Linked DNA regions of Homo sapiens: regions 1, 2 and 3 are each linked to region 4. The links are contacts of gene promoters, found by promoter capture Hi-C in blood cells and fetal thymus (Javierre and others, 2016). All regions are on one chromosome and are shown on one strand. Each heading gives the region's core, a stretch centred on a gene start or on the middle of the fragment in contact. The rest is flanking DNA. Distances are from core to core; before and after follow the strand shown.

Region 1 (2,913 bases), core at 288-2,787, 130 kb before region 4:
GCAAATTTTCCCCCACAAAGAACAGCTTTGCAGGGTCATTTCAAAATATGACAAAGAAACATGTTTTGGGGTAAAATATTTTTATTTTCTTCTTTGTCTCGTAATGTTATGCCAGAGTCAGGTTGGGAAGCAAATCATGATATATAGGGTCAAATAAAACCCATCTGATGAGAATTTATGTTCGTAGGGCATGACTGGACCCCTTAGATAGGAATTTGGGCAAGAAAAAAAAAATCAGAGTTTAGTCTTCAGTCCCCACTCTTGGCCGAAAAGCATTCCATAGCATGCATATACAGGCCAAACAGCAACAGGTCCCACAGTGCTAGGAAGGCTCATTCCTAGAGTTATCTGATTTGGTCATTTGGCGAGGTCTCTCAGTGCTAGGAAGGCTCATTCCTGGAGTAGTCTGGTTGGTGGTAACAGTTTTAAAATATTAGCGATTTGGATCATGGGGGAGAGGACACGGTCTGACCTGATATAATAGCCAATTGTTTAAGGGGTGAGATGAAGTCAGGCCTAGGGTTTAGTCTGGAAAAAAAAAAAAAAAAAAAAAAATCTGGCAACAGATCCATTTTGTGAGCTATCATGATCTGGGTCTTCAGTTGTGCCTTTTTCCTTTTGCTGTATCTGGCGTAACATTTACAGGAGCTATATAATGCTAATACAGTGACAAATATCATAAAGATAGCAAAGATTAGGCATCCAATAAGATTATGAGTCAGAGAGCAGTAAACAACCTAACCAGCCCAAAAAAGTCACTGCACGCAGCATCATATTCTTTGATTAGACTCACAATGTGTTTACCCTCCTTATAAAGGGTCACTCGAATTTTATGATTAAAAAAAAATTTTTTTTTTTTTTTTTTTGACACGGAGTCTCGCTCTGTCACCAGGCTGGAGTGCAGTGGCACGATCTCGGCTCACTGCAAGCTCTGCCTCCCAGGTTCAAGCGATTCTCCTGCCTCAGCCTCCCAAGTAGCTGGGACTACAGGTGCCTGCCACCACACCCGGCTAATTTTTGTATTTTTAGTAGAGACAGGGTTTCACCATGTTGCCCAGGATGATCTCGATCTCTTGACCTCATGATCCGCCCCCCTCGGCCTCCCAAAGTGCTGGGATTACAGGTGTGAGCCACTGCGCCGGGCCGAACTTTATGATAAATCTTACTTGAAGATTGTAGAACCAACATTAACTCAGAATCCAATAAATTTAATATCTCTCCTAGCCAATTTATCTCCATAGGTATAACATCCTGAGAAGAGTATAAATCACGTGCAAGGAATGCCTGGTCCTAAATGTCTAAATTGTTATAGACTTGTTAACAGTAGACAAATCTATTTTTCCTACCACCTTCGTATTGCACATATACTGGTATTTGGGAAAGGAAAGGAGGTTTTGTCACAGAAGTCATAATTGCGCTCCAGCCAGAGCAACAAGAGCGAAACTCCGTCTCAAAAAAAAAAAAAAAAAAAGAGTCAAAAGGCTTATAGCCAATTAATTGTTCTAGGCCAGATAGGAATGGATGTGGACAAGCATTTGTTACTTCTTAAAATTATTAAGTTAAAAAGCCAACAACAAAACCAAAAGGAAAAGTTACAAGACCGACTTATTTTTAACTTCTATGTGTTGAACTCCTGTGAGCTTGGTTTTTGTTACAGATATATAGCAATTAACTACACAAAATATAAGCATTGTTCTGAAAAATACAGATAGAGAGACAGAGATTTATCTTCACAACTCATAATTGGGAGTGTTATACCTAGGAGGCTTGTTATAAGGGATTTTTTTTTTTTTTTTTTTTTTTTTTGAGATGGAGTCTCACTCTGTCACCCAGGCTGGAGTGCAGTGGCAGGACCTCAGCTCACTGCAAGCTCCGCCTCCCGGGTTCACGCCATTCTCCTGCCTCAGCCTCCCAAGTAGCTGGGACTACAGGTGCCCGCGACCACACCCAGCTAATTTTTTGTATTTTCAGTAGAGACGGGGTTTCACCGTGTTAGCCAGGACGGTCTCAATCTCCTGACCTCGTGATCCGCCCACCTCAGCCTCCCAAAGTGCTGGGATTACAGGCGTGAGCCACTGCGCCCAGCCTGTTACAAGGTATTTTCATCCTGTTAGTAAATAATTGTCTTTAACTCTATAGTAAGTGTCAGGCCTCTGAGCCCAAGCCAAGCCATCGCAACCCCTGTGACTTGCATGTATACTTCCAGATGGCCTGAAGTAACTGAAGAATCACAAGAGAAGTGAATATGCCCTGCCCCGCCTTAACTGATAACATTCCACCACAAAATAAGTGTGAATGGCCGGTCCTTGCCTTAACTGATGATATTCCACTACAAAAGTAGTAAAAATGGCCGGTCCTTGCCTTAAGTGATGACATTACCTTGTGAAATTCCTTCTCCTGGCTCATCCTGGCTCAAAAGTCTCCCCCACTGAGCACCTCGTGACCCCCACTCTGCCCACCACAGAACAACTCCCCTTTGACTGTAATTTTCCTTTATCTACCCAAATCCTATAAAACAGCCCCACCCTTATCTCCCTTCGCTGACTCTCTTTTCAGACTCAGCCCACCTGCACCCAGGTGAAATAAACAGCTTTACTGCTCACACAAAGCCTGTTTGGTGGTCTCTTCACACGGACGCGCATGAAAGTAGGCAGAATATTTTTTGGTTGGGGTGGATGTAAAAGCGACACATAATAGTTTAGAAGACAACTAAACTTGCTTTACCAGCTGTTTAGGCATTTTTGTACCTCCTTCTTGATTTGGAGGGTTTGACCTTGACCTAATTTTTTCCCACAAAGCCAGCTCTTACAATCTTACACACCCACCTCTTCAGCAATAGTCCCTGGGCCCAGAGGGAGGCAGCTTGGATAGTTCTGGCAGCAGAGCATTAGCAGCGAAACAGATGTGGGGTCA
Region 2 (2,900 bases), core at 355-2,854, 230 kb before region 4:
TAGAAGCACTAAGGAGACAAAATTGTTTTTCATGGCGGGGTGTCTTATCAAAGATTCACTCAAAATTCATCAATCATCAGTCACCAAATCCTGTAGAATTTACCTCCTAAATACCATCCCCTCTGCCTCTTCCTCTTTATCTCACTGTCCCGACTGCCCCCTCTCCTCTCACTTGCAAAAACCTATCTGCTTCTATCTAGCCTGCCTGCTTCTCATCTCTCTGATACACCATTAAAGCCCAAACTTTCTGGGTCATGTGGCCCTATCAGTAAAAGATTTCTGACCAGGCATCCCCAGTATGACACTTATTTATCAACTCTACACGTGAACTGCTTGCTCTCAGTCATGTGTAAGTATCAGTAAAGCTTAGTGTCTTCTTTATTTTTTTTCAGATTAAAGAATACATCTGTATCCAATTTTCTTGCATACTTTTAGGGGTACAGGCCTCCCCTGTAACATGAGAGACCACTGCTCAAAAAGGCTACAAGAGAAAAGTTTCTGAAATGATATCAACTCATAATTAAGACTCTATAGTCTTTCACTTTGACTTTAAAATAAGCTCAAGGCCCTTCTGGGTTTCCTTTTTTGCCCATGATAGCCTCAGACCTGGCTATAGAGCTAAACAGGGGAATGCTCAGATGAACAGATGCACCTCTCCATCCTCACCCCTCATCCTTTTTCATGCATATCCAGGCCTTTGCTGGAGTCCAGCTGACCTCTCAGCAGGGAAGGAGTTAAGATAGAACAGGCACTGACCACTAACAGCAGTTCTTGACTGCCCTGTGCCAAGTGGTTTTCCAGTTGAGAGCACCCCTGAGGTTTAATTGGCCAAAGTCTGAACTACAATTTTTCAGAAGGATTAAGAAATGTCCCTTTTAAAGCCCATTTCCAGGAGTGTGAGGTGATTATATGACAGATAGGAAACGAGCCTAGGCATCTTTTACCTGCTCCAACTGGCTAGAATAATCTAGCATAAATCCAAAAGGTAATTCCAATATGCATCCCATCACCTAAACTATTCCACATCATTTACATGAAATCATGTAAATCATGACATCATGGTTTCTCCCCAGTTCATAAATCAGCTCTGCCTTCTATAGTCAGTCAAGTTCCCCATGAATGCTACCACCACCAACCCTGCTTTCCACGTAGCAAACCTGACATTTAAACTGAATTTCTCCCTCTCCTTCATGCTCACATCTATTTACCAACACCTCCCCAACCCCGCCTCGGAGAAGTCTTTGAAATCCATCTTTCCTCCTCTGACACTCATTAGTCTAGGCCTTCAGCATGTCTTGCTTGAGGAATTACAATCATCTCCTACTTTGTCCACCAACCTCCAGGTTCTCTGTTTTAGCTCAGTTGCCTAATTATCTTCTTAAACAAAAGTTTAGCTGATATCCATATGCCTCTCTTAGTAAAAACATTTGAGCACACACCTCTAAAATGGGATTATTTAAAAATTATAAACATGCATTACTTTGCTAATATATTTTGCATATTGTAAAATTATATATATATACAAATATAAATTTAAAAGTGTGGCATGGGCCAGGCGTGGTGGCTCACGCCTGTAATCCCAGCACTTTGGGAGGTCGAGGTGGGCAGAACACGAGGTCAGGAGATCAAGACCATCCTGGTTAACACGGTGAAACCCTGTCTCTGCTAAAAATACAAAAAATTAGCCAGGCGTGGTGGCGTGTGCCTGTAGTCCCGGCTACTCGGGAGGCTGAGGCAAGAGAATGGCATGAACGCAGGAGGCAGAGCTTGCAGTGAGCCGAGATCACGCCACTGCACTCCAGCCTGGACGACAAAGCGAGACTCTGTCTCAAAAAAAAAAAAAAAAAAAAAAGTGTGGCATGATCTCTTGTGTCATTGAGGAGGGGTAATGAAACTGTTGTATGTCCTGATTATAGTGATGTTATTATAATAGGTTGCAATAACTTATATGTTTGTGTTAAAATCCAGAAAACTATACACCAATTAAAAAAACTCAATTTTACTGCAGATAAATTTAAAAACTAAATTTTAATGAAAGTATGAGATAAAATTCAAATAGTTGTAATATATTTGCCCACTCCCAACTGGATTACCTTTTGCATCTTTTGAGAAGACACAGCGCCTTTGGGATCACTGAATCACAGGATTAAATTCAAACTCCTCAGACTGGCATTTTTGACTGCTATTGTAAAAGAAATAGCAAAAATTCCTCAAATCATTAAAGGCTTTTTCACCTATTTTGTCATGACTCTACTTCTAGTTACATGGTGTTATGGAAATATTGATAGTGAGTATAAATCATAGTGTGTATAACTGTTATAAAATAGAAGAAGGCTGTTTGTGTTACTCTTCTAGAGCATATAATTGATCTAAATTTGCTTTTGTGACCTGCCCAGCATAATGACAGAGAAAGGCATGGGCTGATGGTGATAAGATTCAGGGAAGAAATATCTACAATGCTAAGTAAAAATCACCTATCAGGCTGGGCGCCTGTAATCCCAGCACTTTGGGAGGCCGAGGCGGGTGGATCACAAGGTCAAGAGATCGAGACCACCCTGGCCAACATGGTGAAACCCCATCTCTACTAAAAATATAAAAATTTGCTTGGCATGGTGGCACGCACCTGTAGTCTCAGCTACTCAGGAGGCTGAGGCAGGAGAATTGTTTGAACCCAGGAGGTGGAGGTTGCAGTGAGTCGAGATCACACCACTGCACTCCAGCCTGGGCTACAGAGCGAGACTGCGTCTCAAAAAAAAAAAAAAAGAAAGAAAGAAAGAAAAAAAAAATCACTGATCAAAGCAAAGGACCCAGAACACTAAGAATATACAGAAGGAGAAGCTTCACAAAAGAAAGTTCAGGAGGAGAGAATGGGATGGATCCTGTCCCAAATAAAGTATCAT
Region 3 (3,390 bases), core at 826-3,325, 210 kb before region 4:
GTGAGTCAGCTTTGCAAGACCATCCCGCCTTCAGAGCTCCTGAGGTCCTGGCTGAGACCTTTATTAAGACTGTGCCACAGCTCAACGTCTCTCCCTTACTTCATCCTGCTCCTTCTCTTCTCCTTTATGATGTAAATCCCCAAAACTCTCCCCAAGAAACATCCTTTTTTCCATCATCACAGAGCTCTGAGGAGCTACAAATGGTGTCGCTTCCAAACAAGGATAATTTCAGGAAACCTGATCTGACGCTGCAACATTGGTTTATAAAAAATACCATACAGGCCGGGTGCAGTGGCTCACGCCTGTAATCCAAACACTTCGGGAGGCCGAGGCAGGAGGATTGCTTGAACCCAGGAGTTCGAGACCAGCCTGCACAACATGGCAAAACCCCATCTTTACAAAAAATTAGCCAGGTCTGATGGCACATGTTTGTAGTCCCAGCTGCTCCGGTAGGCTGAGGTGGGAGGATTACCTGAGCCCAGGAGTTCGAGGCTGCCGTGAACTATGATCACACCACCACACTCCAGCCTGGGTGACAGAGTAAAACCCTGGCTCCAATATATATATATATGTATGTATATGCCGGACACGGTGGCTCACGCCTGTAATCCCAGCACTTTGGGAGGTCGAGGCAGGTGGATCACTTGAGGCCAGGAGTTCGAGACCAGCCTGGAAAACATGGAGAAACACTGTCTCTACTAAAAATGCAAAAATTAGCTGGGTGTGGTAGTGCACACCTGCAATCCCAGCTACTTGGGAAGCTGAGGTAGGAAAGTCGCTTGAACCCAGGAGTTGCAGTAAGCCGAGATCGCACCACTGCACTCCAGCCTGGGCAACAGGGCAAGACTCCGTCTCTAAAAAAAAAGAAAAGAAAAAAGAAAAGAAAATATAATACCAATTTACTAGGTATTGAAGGAGGAAGGGAAAAGAGCTTGTGCTAACTCATTTGACCTTGGAATTGAATCCTCACCTTATGTTTTCTCCAGGGAAGACATATTCTGAAGAATACCAAGATAAAGTATAACAAGAGCTCATCAGCCCAGGATTTGGGTGACGTAGATTCTGGCTTCCATTCTGATGTTAGCTGGAATACACAACGTTCTCTTCATCTACATCCACTTTTAACTTCTCCAAGGACTTCTCTGTGAGAACTGCCAACTCATATGGTAGCCCTGGCTGCCATTTTTGGAGCCCATGCCATGTTCTGACATCTGGAATTCGGCAGTTGTGCCTGCTCTTTCTCAGAAATAGAACTATCATCACAAAGAAAGCTATTTTGGTGGGAAATTTTAAAAGATGGTTTAAACTATAAATTCCACCCTTAAAATTTTTTAATCACAAACAACTTTCAAATATAAATACAAGTAGTCTCCAGTTTTTAAACTAAGCGTATCATATATATAATTCATAATTAATTACTGGCCATGCACAATAGCTCAGGCCTATAATCCCAGCACTTTGGGAGGCCGAGGTAGGAGGATCACTTGAGCTCAGGAGTTCCAGACCAGCCTGAGTAACATAATAAGACCTCGTCTCTACTAAAAATAAAAAATTAGCCAGGCGTGAGGGTGTATACTTGTAGTCCCAGCTAATCAGGAGGCTGGTACGAGAAGATGGCCTGAGCCCGGGAGATTGAGGCTGCAGTGAGCTATGATCGCATCACTGCATTCCAGCCTAAGCAACAGAGCAAGACCCTGTCTCAAAAAATTAAAATAAAGTAAAAACAAACAAACAAAAAATTCACTACCTCAATGGAAGCAATAGTAAAAATAAACATTAGTTCAGCTCAGTAAAAATATCTTGAATGCCCACTGTGTCCCAATCACTATTCAGACCCCAGAGGTACCAGCTGTTCTTCCTAAGCAGCTGATAATTTTGCAGAGAGAAGCTTCCTAGGCCAAAGCATAAAAGCCTATTCAACCCATATACAACTCTGGTAACTCTAACCATCACTTGTAACACCTTTGTACTAAGGGAAAAACATATTCTTAGTTAAACTTCTGGATATCAGATACATGTCTCTCTCTCAGCTCTTGAAGTGAATTAGGGAAGGTCTATAGATACTTCCAGAAAGCAGAAACTTGCTTAATGGAAAATATTGTCCAATACTTTTATTACTGAGCAAGATAAAAAAGGGTTTCCATACGAGCATTATGTTCAAGTTATGTTCAGCAGCGTTAAGAGCTATTGCCCAAAGGCTCCATGACCGCAGAAGTTTGGTAAAGAGTAAGTTTTAACAAGTTCCTTCACTGAGAAGCTTATTAAATACTTCAATATATTATTATGACTTTTATATCTCAAAAAAAAAAACAACAATGCAAGCATACTTAATACCACTGAACTGTACGCTTAGAAATACAGTCATGGGTCAGGTAGAGTGACTCACGCCTGTAATCCCAACACTTTGGGAGGCTGAGGTGGATCACTTGAAGCTAGAAGTTCGAGACCAGCCTGGACAACATGGTGAAACCCCGTCACTACTAAAAATACAAAAATTAGCCGGGCATGGTGGCGTGCGCCTATAGTCCCAACTACTTGGGAGGCTGAGGCAGGAGAATTGCTTGAACCTTGGAGACAGAGGTTGCAGTGAGCCAAGATTGCACAACTGCACTCCAGGCTGGGTGACAGAGCAAGACCCTGTCTCAAAAAAAAAAAAAAGAAAAAGAAAAAAGAAACAGTTGTTTTGCTTAATGATGAGGATACATTTGGAGAAATGCATTGTTAGGCTATTTCATCACTGTGTTAACATCAGAGAGTGTACTCACACAAACCCAGACGCTATAGCCTACTACACACCTAAGCTACATGGTAGAGCCTATTTCTCCTAGGCTACAAACCTGTACAACAGGTTACTGTACTGAAGACTATAGGGAACTGTAACACAATGGTAAATTTTTGTATATCAAACATATCAAAGCATAGATAATGTAAATATATGATATTATAATCTTACAGGAACACCATGATATATGAGGCCCACTATTGACCAAAATGTCATTATGCAGCACATGACTATAATTAAGATGGTAAATTCTAAGTTATGTGTTTTTTTACCACAATTTTTTTTTTAAATGAAAACAAGAGGAAGAGGTTTCTAAGATTCTTTGACTACAGAACCATGTTGTGCTCAGTGTTTCTCTTAGGGATGAGTGTACAATGACTGAGCACCTTGATATTCTCAGGGCTAGGGGCCTTCCTAGGATGTAGGACTTTTAGTGATAAAACCAGAGCATTCTGGGCAAATACAGACAATTGGCTACCCTACCTAAAGAAGCCCTGAGCACAACTTGGAAATGTTTCCATGTGTCAATAAATTTGGGGGCGATTAGAATAGAAAAACAAAGGTTGTTAGACAGGGTATGGTGGCTCATGCCTGTACTCCCACCACTT
Region 4 (3,323 bases), core at 256-2,755:
TTTCCTTGCGACCTTGGACACAAGCTTTAATGGCTCAGCGCCTTAAGCGTGTAAACCTGTGAAACAGAACAACATTGCACAATATCATTAACTAATTTACACCTTGACTCTTTCTAAAGGGAAGTGAGGTGGGAGCAATGATATTAATGGTGAAGAACTGGACTGGGATAAGTTACAAACATGCTTGACTTTCCCCATAAGGATTACAGAAGGATGTTTCATTCATTCATTCATGCTGTGAGACAGCCTGGGGATACTCATCTTAAAGCACAGTCCTTCCCCAACAGTCTTAGGAATAAATCCTAGAGTGGGCATCTAGCCCAGTGGTTACGGGGAGCTTGGGTGGGGTGAGTGGAGTAGCATCTTTGGGAAGGGTTCCTTCCCCTGGAAGGTGTGACTTTGTGAGCTGAGTTTTAAAGGTTGAGTAGCAGTTGGCAAATTCCCTGGAGAGAGCATCTCAAATCTTTTGTGCTGAAGAACCAGCCATTTTTGTTCCCAGTCGGCCAGGTACCAATACACTGCGGCGCCAGGTGTGACTCACCACGTGAGTCTGACAACACCCAAACTGGTTTATACTCGGTTCAAAGAGTCCACTGATCATGTGCTTGGATGTCGTGGCATTATTAAATTGCTACAAACGTTTACTCTTAATTTCTCTACTTGTTACAAGCTTTCGTTCAGCACAGGACCAGGTAGCACCTGAGGGGCACCTGGAAAGCAGATTGTTCCAGCCTGCGTTCTAACAAGGTTCCCAGGTGACCCTCGCACAGCATAAAGTTAAAAGAACTGCCCTAGGGGAAACGGGACTCAGTGCCAGGTGGGTTTGATCATTCGTCCATCTCAGTGCCATCTGCCATCTCTGCTTCCTTGAGGTCTAGAAAAGGGTTACATTTTTAAAGGTGATATTGGCCACGTCCCCTTCCAGTTTCAAAACTACATTTCCCCGCTGTTACGCAAACGTCTTAAGCAAACCCGACTGCAGGACAGAAAGTCAACACGGGAATGCAGCTTCCAGAAATTCTGATTAGCCTCCGTCTTCCGCTTTGATCTGGCCCCGCAGCCCCGGCAGCTCCGCTGACCGCGCTTCCTTCCCGAGATTGCTAGTCTACCGGGCTGCATTAATGAGATCCGTGTTGAGCCGGTTCCCGGGTCTGCTAAACATGAAAGGCACAGAAGCCCCCAGTCCCTTCTCCTCCCCTCTAAGTGATTGTTTAGTCTCTCTCTGCAGAGGGAAGAGTTAAATCCCCTCCCCACGCCTACGTGGGAAGACCTGGGGAAACACGCGGCCCCCTCCCGGGTCCGCTAACGAGCCTGCGGCTGCTTCGGGCTTAGAGTGGGCGGGGCCTGGTCGGGAAGGGGGCGGGGCGCTCCGCCCGGGCGGGGCCAGACGGTGTGGTTGGCGGAGGGCCAAGCTCCTGGGGGCGGGGCCGCGAGCGGGAGGGCGGGGCCGGCTGCGGGAGGGCGGGGCCGGCTGCGGGAGGGCGGGGCGAGGTCGCTGGGCTGTAGTCCCGCGGGCGAGAGCTGGCTGAGCCGCGGCGCGGGACTGCTCACCTCCAAGCGCTCGCGCGGGGATCGCGGCTCCTGCTCACTTTGCGGCCCGCTGTCCTCCTGCCCGCCCCGAGGGCCCCCGGCCGGAGCGCAGAGGGAGGGGGCCGCGCTCGCCAGCACCCCGCCGCCTTCCCCCGCCTGGGGGAAGAATGTGCCACCAGCTGTTCTCCGCTTGCGAGCGCTGCGCCCAGTAGTGAGGAACTTGGAGGAAGAAGAGACAAAGGCTGCCGTCGGGACGGGCGAGTTAGGGACTTGGGTTTGGGCGAACAAAAGGTGAGAAGGACAAGAAGGGACCGGGCGATGGCAGCAGGGGAGCCCCGCGGGCGCGCGTCCTCGGGAGTGGCGCCGTGACACGCATGGTTTCCCCGGACCCGCGGCGGCGCTGACTTCCGCGAGTCGGAGCGGCACTCGGCGAGTCCGGGACTGCGCTGGAACAATGGATAACTTCTTCACCGAGGTAAGTGCGCTCCCAGTCCGACCTGGCCTCCGGAGCCCAGGGAGAGAGGCGTCTGCCCACCACGCCGCGCGCCCTGGGTACTTTTTCCTAAGCCCTGGAAGGCGCAACTTTCTGGGAGTCTCCTGAAATCACCCCCCATCCCCCCGCGGAGTCTCTGATGAGTAAGCCCGGGCAGGTTTTGTTTCGTCCTGTCCCGCGCTCGCATTTTGCTCCGGGAGGTAGCGAAGGTGCGTTTCCGTTTGCGTGGGTGGCTGGCTCTCGGGGCGCCCTGGGACACCCGCGCCAGGTGAGGCGGCGCGCGCCGGGGCGCGGGCGGGGCGATCCGCCCGCTCGACTGCCCGGGTGCAGGAAGCCCAATAAAATGTTCAGCGGGGACCTGCCTTTCTCCAAGAAAGGTCTTGTCTGGTATTTCCTTTGCAAAACGTGCGGGCTTCCTGTGCAGGGGTTCAAACACTTCCAGAGGAGACGGCTTAATGAAGTGTGAGAAGGAGAGGCAAGGGTTTAATCGGTTACTTTGCTCGCCGAGAAGTGCTCTTTTAAGGCTTGGGATAACTCCAGACCCTGGGATCAAATGATCATGTATTTGTGTAGAGTGTCCATGCAGATTTTGAATTCGAATGTAAAGAAAATTCGTTTAGGGCAAACAGTGGCTATTTTAATAGATGAAACGGATGCCCTCTTTAGGGTCGTTGAGGGTGGGACACTGAAACTTAACTTGAGAACCCTTTTTCCCCCTTTGGGATCGAGACTTACTGTGGTTTCTTGGCTCCCTTTCCTTTCTTGGTTGTGTTTATTTAATAAATTCTGTTTAAGTTTGAGGTTTGAAGTGGCTCAAAGTAAACTTAGTTGACTTGAGAGAGTCTGATGTGATTTTCGTTGAAAGCCAGGGAATGTTTTCTGAGTGCAGAACCGCTTTGGAGTCTTCCAGCAAATCAGATTGATGAGGGCTTGCCTCTGTGTTAGCCGACTTGGTTTATCTGATTTAATTGGATATAATATTTCAAGTCATTCTGCTTTCTGCATGCTCACTGACTGTATTCTCAGACAGCTATTCATACTGGCCAAAGTGATAAATGCATTCTTGTTTAGTAGTCATATCTAGTTTTTAAAAGTGGTGTTTCAGATGTGATACCCACATTCATTGTGGAAGGAAGACTAGAAAGGAATTATCCATCAATACATATTTTTCCTTTTCTTAAAAAAAGTGAAATATATATAATTGTGAGACGCTCGCATTTTCTAGTCCATAGACTTTTGTTTTCATGCTTGTCGAAAGGCACCAGAACTTTCTGCAAGAGTTGCACGTTGTCCAGTGGTA

The links. The method cuts DNA at HindIII sites, captures the fragments that hold promoters and counts their contacts. A CHiCAGO score of 5 or more calls a contact.
Region 1: a fragment that was not itself captured here is called in contact with the fragment with the promoter of MYO10 in region 4 in 1 of 17 cell types (endothelial precursors); the score reaches 5.6 in endothelial precursors.
Region 2: a fragment that was not itself captured here is called in contact with the fragment with the promoter of MYO10 in region 4 in 4 of 17 cell types (endothelial precursors, M0 macrophages, M2 macrophages and 1 more); the score reaches 11.2 in endothelial precursors.
Region 3: a contact is called between a fragment that was not itself captured here and the fragment with the promoter of MYO10 in region 4, in 5 of 17 cell types (endothelial precursors, M0 macrophages, M2 macrophages and 2 more). The highest score is 8.5, in endothelial precursors.

Annotation. Positions count from the first base shown.
Region 1 is chr5:17,065,613-17,068,525 of GRCh38, reverse strand. No RefSeq gene overlaps it. Among named protein-coding and RNA genes, the nearest start is that of MIR10522, 89 kb to the left of the region's middle. RefSeq lists an enhancer at 2,046-2,627. The HindIII fragment of the contact is 5,549 bases long and covers 1-2,913 here.
Region 2 is chr5:17,165,532-17,168,431 of GRCh38, reverse strand. All of the region lies in intron 1 of BASP1-AS1 (BASP1 antisense RNA 1), which reads left to right. LOC105374664 (a long non-coding RNA gene) reads right to left here. Exons shown (of 4, transcript XR_001742614.2): 2 at 2,094-2,182. Among named protein-coding and RNA genes, the nearest start is that of MIR10522, 11 kb to the right of the region's middle. The HindIII fragment of the contact is 2,473 bases long and covers 368-2,840 here.
Region 3 is chr5:17,148,454-17,151,843 of GRCh38, reverse strand. The region is part of intron 2 of BASP1-AS1 (BASP1 antisense RNA 1); the gene reads left to right. Among named protein-coding and RNA genes, the nearest start is that of MIR10522, 5.8 kb to the left of the region's middle. RefSeq lists an enhancer at 1-761. The HindIII fragment of the contact is 369 bases long and covers 1,891-2,259 here.
Region 4 is chr5:16,934,470-16,937,792 of GRCh38, reverse strand. MYO10 (myosin X) reads left to right here and starts at 1,505. Exons shown (of 41, transcript NM_012334.3): 1 at 1,505-2,005. The coding sequence starts at 1,985. The HindIII fragment of the contact is 4,395 bases long and covers 673-3,323 here.